2 separate regions of the Homo sapiens genome follow, and region 1 is linked to region 2. The links are contacts of gene promoters, found by promoter capture Hi-C in human tissues and cell types (Jung and others, 2019). All regions are on one chromosome and are shown on one strand. The core of a region is centred on a gene start or on the middle of the fragment in contact, and the rest is flanking DNA. Distances in the headings are between cores, read along the strand shown.

The links. The method cuts DNA at HindIII sites, captures the fragments that hold promoters and counts their contacts. A contact is called where the count stands out against the background at its distance.
Region 1: a contact is called between a fragment that was not itself captured here and the fragment with the promoter of KCNH3 in region 2, in 1 of the 25 tissues and cell types used here (dorsolateral prefrontal cortex).

Annotation. Positions count from the first base shown.
Region 1 is chr12:49,063,877-49,066,749 of GRCh38, forward strand. It overlaps RHEBL1 (RHEB like 1), which reads right to left. Exons shown (of 8, transcript NM_144593.3): 4 at 2,743-2,825; 5 at 2,600-2,656; 6 at 2,355-2,402; 7 at 1,474-1,555; 8 at 800-1,316. The coding sequence ends at 1,227. Among named protein-coding and RNA genes, the nearest start is that of KMT2D, 4.5 kb to the left of the region's middle. The HindIII fragment of the contact is 1,778 bases long and covers 665-2,442 here.
Region 2 is chr12:49,537,655-49,540,561 of GRCh38, forward strand. KCNH3 (potassium voltage-gated channel subfamily H member 3) reads left to right here and starts at 1,376. Exons shown (of 15, transcript NM_012284.3): 1 at 1,376-1,838. The coding sequence starts at 1,763. RefSeq lists silencers at 337-456, 1,187-1,366 and enhancers at 684-1,495, 1,496-2,305. The HindIII fragment of the contact is 20,416 bases long and covers 1-2,907 here.

The sequences.
Region 1 (2,873 bases), core at 304-2,803, 470 kb before region 2:
AGGGGACTGATATGCACCGGAGGCATTATTTCTTACTTTACTCAACACTCTTGGGAAGTCAAAGTCTTCACAACACTTTAGTCTCTGCCTCTACACTCCTTCTCAATTCTTACATCATTAGGAATGAGGGGCTTCCTTTCTTCTCCTGAAACCCCATCATCTTTGAATCCAAGCAAATGCCGAGGCCCCAGGAAGACAGCTAGGTCAGCATGTTGCAGTTGGCCACTAGAGGGTGGTGTTTCTGTAATTAAGGGGATCTTGAAAGGCTACAAAACTTGGATGGGAGTGGCAGCCAACTGGACTTAGTATATGAGGAACCCAGCAGAATAGAAAGGTGGGAAAGGCAAGTAGTAAATCTTAGGATAATGGTCCTTAATAAGTGAGGAATAAGGAATAGGAACAAGGTAGGAGGAAAGATATCCCACCAAAGACCACAGCCATCACTCCTTGGAAAAAGAGATCTTGGCTCTGAGCTCTCACTAGATACATAGAAGTCAACAATAAAATAAGGCCGGGGGCAGTGGCTCACGCCTGTAATCCCAGCACTTTGGGAGGCTGAGGTGGGTGGATCACTTAAGGTCAGGAGTTCGAGACCATCCTGGCCTAGGTGAAACCTCATCTCTACTAAAAATAAAAAAGTTAGCTAGGCATGGTGGCGGGTGCCTGCAGAAGACTGAGGCAGGAGAACTGCTTGAACCTGGGAGGCGGAGGTTGCAGCGAGCCAAGATTGCAGCACTGCACCACTCCAGCCTGGGCAACAGAGTGAAACTCCGTCTCACACACACACACGAAAAAGAAGTCAACAACAAAAGATTTCTCAATTTATTTGCATATATACATTGTCACCCCAGGGAGCCAGCTCTATTTCAGAAGTCCCCGGCTCCCCTTACCCAGCCAACACCCAAAACCCACCCAAGAGGATGGGTCCTGGATAAATAATGCCCAGGACTCATATCCTGACCCCATAGGTTATAACAGAATTCATCAAACAAAAACAGAGGGCTAGAGGCCAGTGTCCATGAGAGGTCCTTGCCCCTTTGTAAACATTGACATCCAGGCCACTGGAGCCTGGGGAAAGTGTGCAAACATGAGGATGCCACACTGTGTGTCCAGGGGCCAGGAACACAGCTGGCAACCATACCCGTGAAGTCCTGAGGATCTGCCCCCCACTGGAACATGGCAAGTGCCGGGGGCAGAAGCAAGGCAGTTACCCCACACCCAAGGGCTCACATGAGATGGCAGCGACGCTCTTGCCCATAGGAATTCTCCACACGGGCAATCTCCTGGATGACTTTGGTGAAGATGCCTTGAGTCAGCTATAAGAGGAGAGGATTCAGGGCAAAAGTCAGTTCAGTGCCAATACCACCCAGCTCTGGGGTGAAAGCCCCATTCCCGCAACATTCCCACCACCAAGCAGTACAATAAGGAAAACACAGCTACCATCACCACCCTTCTAGTCTTCAGGCCCAGCACCTGATTCTCTCGAGCAGATGACTCCATAAATGTCGCACCCCAGGACTCTGCCAGCTTCTTTCCTTCAACTGCCTGTACCTCTCTGGAAGCAAATTTGGGACATAAAGATGGAGGATAGAAATGTCAGTAAGTGCTCTGAAAAATCTTCAGAATCAAGACTTCCTGGCCAGGCACAGTGGCTCATGCCTGTAATGCAGCACTTTGGGAGGCCGAGGTGGTGGATCACTTGAGCTCAGGAGTTCAAGACCAGCCTGGACAACACAGGGAAACACCATCTCTATTAAAAAAAAAATGGGCCACACGCGGTTGCTTGTGCCTGTAATCCCGATACTTTGGGAGGCCTAGGCGGGTGGATCACAAGGTCAGGAGATCGAGACCATCCTGGCTAACATGGTGAAACCCCGTCTCTACTAAAAATACAAAAAATTAGCTGGGCGTGGTGGCACGCGCCTGTAGTCCCAGCTACTTGGGAAGCTGAGGCAGGAGACTCGCTTGAACCCGGGAGGCAGAGGTTGCAGTGAGCCGAGATCACACCACTGCACTCCAGCCTGGGCAACAGAGCAAGACTCCGTCTAAAAAAAAAAAAAATAGAGAAGAAAAAGACTTTCTCTGACCCATGCCATTTCCCCAAGTTTTGGGAGGAGGGCTGTGGAAGGAGAAAATATAGGTAAACAAAGGAACAATGGGTGAATCTAGGACTGAGGCTTGAAATATGAAATTGTGGCTTTTAAGATAGAAGTATTATCTTCCTTAAGCTTCAGGTTAGAGACAAAGAGAGGTGAAATGACTTGTTTGAGTCAGTGGAAGAGCCAGGATGAGAGCCTGACTGATTCCCAGTCCATTTCACTTCCTTTTGCTCTGAGTAGCAGAGATTTACATACCTCTCTGGAGAGAGATCTGCCTTGTTCCCCACTAGAACCACTGGCACCCTGTGAGGAAACAGCAGTTACTTCAGAATCCCCTCATTCCCCGCATTCCCCAACTCCTTACATCAAGGCTGGACGACTCCTTATCAGACCAGGCAGGATCTATATCCGAGCCTCCTCTCTAACTTGACAATTCTCCCCTCTGCTCTCTCCCACCCCCTCATGCCCACACTATGTCCCTATCCCCCAGGGCCACTTACCGGGTTTTCCCATGGCCTTCATGTAGCTTTTGGTACAGACTCTCAATGACTTGGAAGCTTTAAACACAAGAATTGGAGCTATAACTTTATGAGACAGTCCTCAGGTTCTCCCAAGTCCCGCACTCACAACCTTGGTCACTTACCTATGCAGAGAGGTGACAGAATACACAAGCACATAACCATGGACCCCAATGATGAATGAATAGGGCAGAATGCTGTACTCATCCTGGCAAGAAATGGGAAACATCAGTACCTAGATCCAAACCACTAAGAT
Region 2 (2,907 bases), core at 126-2,625:
CCTTAGGGTCACTCCTCAGGGTCACTCCTCGTCCTGGGGACCAGATTCCAGGCTTCACAGGACCGGAGAAGGAGGAGCGCGTCCTCCCTTCCCAAAGCGCCAGCTCATTTAGATACAGGTGCCTGGGGCTTTGGCTCTCGTCGCTGATGAGGGGTAGCATCTTTCTGATGCTGGTGACTGTGAGTGCGTCTCGAGGGATGGGGGTGCTGAGCCTACCGCTTCGCTCGTTAGGGAACAAATTGCTGTTTTGGCCCCGGCGGCTCCTCTGGGCGCGGGCGGCAGCCGCGCTCGCTGGCAAATCGTGGGAGGGAGGAGGAGCGGCGCTGGCAGGCAAGTCCGGGGGACCGTCGCAGCGCGGGAGGCCAAGAAAAGACGGCCGCCCCGGGCCCGGCTCCGCCCCGCCGGGAAGGGGCTCCCTGCAGCCGCCCCAGGGCAGCACCCCGCGCGGCGCCGCGCGGAGCTCTCCAGGACGAGCTGCGTGAGGCGCGGGGCTCGGCCTTCCTCGCTCTCCTGGTGCCAGGACCCGCACGCACAAGGTTCGGAAGTTTTTTCGCAGTGTCTGACCCCTGCCGGTCCCCTGTATTTACCACCTGACCCTCTAGCGCGCTTAGGAGAGGCAAGAGGTGACAAATGCCAGAGGGAAATGGAGGGGCAGGACAAGGGGTCTGGCGCTCCCCTCCCCACCACACACCCTTTCCGCCCACGGGGTCACACGGAGGACGTCTGACCCTTACTCCTAGGGCTACCCACCCTCTGGTTTCCAGGCAGCTCCTGCTTGCGGAGACACCTCATAGGAGCAGCTGGATCCATTTTCCAGAGCGTCAAGTTGAGGATGAGAAAGTCTCGAGGGCCGGGCAGCTGTGCGCGCAGAACCCCCGCCCCATCTGCTTTTAGATTTCCCGGGTGCGGCTGGAGCCCCTCTAGAGCGCCGGCCTCCGCTGGCCGCAGGGCCTTCACCTGCGCCTGTCGCCCTGTCCCCTTGCCCACTGCATTTTCCTCGGGGAGAGCATCTTCCACAGCATGCGTCCCCTGCCCCCCACGCCCCGAGCCCCCCTCCCATTCCGCCGGGGGAGGAGAGGCTGCTAGGAGGCTCTCGGAGAGCCCCCGGGCTGCAGAGAAAGACGCCTCCCCTCTGCGGCTGAGGCCGAGTGAGCCAAAGGGGGCCGGCCGCTCGCCAGTGGTTCTCCGAGGTACGGGCGGGGAGGCCCGCGGGGTGGGATCAGGGCGGCCGCCACCTCCCCGCCCCCGCCGAGGTCCCGAAGGGAGGGGAGCCCTCCGCGGGAGGCCTGTCCCTTTAAGGAGGCGGCCCTGGCTGGGTGTGCCCCGTCTCCATGGTTACCCCGGTGCAGGCGGCGGGCGCGGGAGGGAGGGAGGGAGGCTGCAGCTTCTCCCCGACAGACGGAGGGAGCTGCCGAGAGCCGGCGCCGAGCGAAGCCGAGCGGAAGCCCACCCGCAGCCGACACGCGAGCCGCTGCCGCGGCGGGAGGTGCTGAGAGCGCGGCGGCCGCGGGGCCTGGAGCCCGGGATTTGTGGGCGGCGAGGGCGCGAGGGGCCGCGCGCCATGCTCCGGGCCCCGACGGCGCGGACGCCCCCTCGCGCGCCAGCGTCCGGCGCGACCCCGGATCCCGGTCTGCGCATTGCCCCCCGACGGCTGCGCTAGGGAGCGCGGGGCCCGGCGGGGGGCGGCCGAGCTGGGCGCCCTCCCCCGGCGCGGAGTCCCCGCACCCCGGAGGGATGGGGCGGGCAGCCGCGGGCGCCTAAGATGCCGGCCATGCGGGGCCTCCTGGCGCCGCAGAACACCTTCCTGGACACCATCGCTACGCGCTTCGACGGCACGCGTGAGTCCGACCCTCGCCCACTTGCACCCGGGCCGCCGGACCCTCGCCAGGGCTCCCGCCTTCCCCGAACCCCCAGCAGCCCAGCTTGGCGCCAGCCTATTCTCACCCTCTCCTCCCTACCCGCCCCTCTTGAGGCTGGGGCCATCGTCTCCTGCTAGGCGCTGTTTCCCCGAAGGTTCGAAGGTTCGGGGTCAACACTGCTTCAGGCGAGGCAACAGGGCCAGAAGTCCCTGGGTGTGGGTCCTGGGATGCTCTCTGTTAGCCGGGTCTCGAACCCGAACCTAGTCAGTCTGACCCATCCCACCCCTGCGTCTGGCGCTGTCGCAGCAACTACCCTCGGACTGGTGGGGTAAGGCGAGGCGGGTGAACAGTGCTCAGGGACAGCTGAGAGGGCTCAAAACACAGATTTAGAAAAGAGATTTGCAAACGGAGATAAGAGTAGGCGGCACTCGGGAGAGCACCGTGTGTCCAAGCCCCGTGTCTCATAGCCTGAACCCCCTAGACTTGGGGAGGCCATCTAGCCCCAAGAAGATGGTTTGGGGACTCCCATCAGGACTGGGGAAGTTTGGAGAAGGCGCCCCGAGCTCTGGATCCCCGGTTCTGGGGGCTCTGAGCACAGGGGAAGTGATGAAAGCCCCTCCCTCCTCCTCTCCCTCACATCCCCCGTGGGGCTTCCCAGCTCTCTGCCTAGGTCCTCCTTGGTCTCCGGTTCCTGATAGGGGGTGGGAGCCCAGCCCTGCGCTCTCCCCACTCCGGGCTCCTCCATCTGCTTTGCCAGTGTGCTTGGCTCCTGCAGCCTGCTGATTCAGTGCCCCCCACTCCCCAATACATTCCTGGCTCCTGGCTCCCGTGCTCAGTCACCATTCTTACACCCCCATTCTTGATCACATTCACTAATTCCTGAGCCAGGTCAGGCAGCTAGGGCTAAAACACAGACAGCAGGATGTATGGTGGTCTGGGGTTGCCTCCAGTCTAGGTGTGTCTCAGTGGGAGAAGCCAGACAGCCAACCTGGGTACCTGGCTAGTGGGTGAGCCTGGCAGAAGTAGAGGTGGGGCTGAGGCTGGCCCA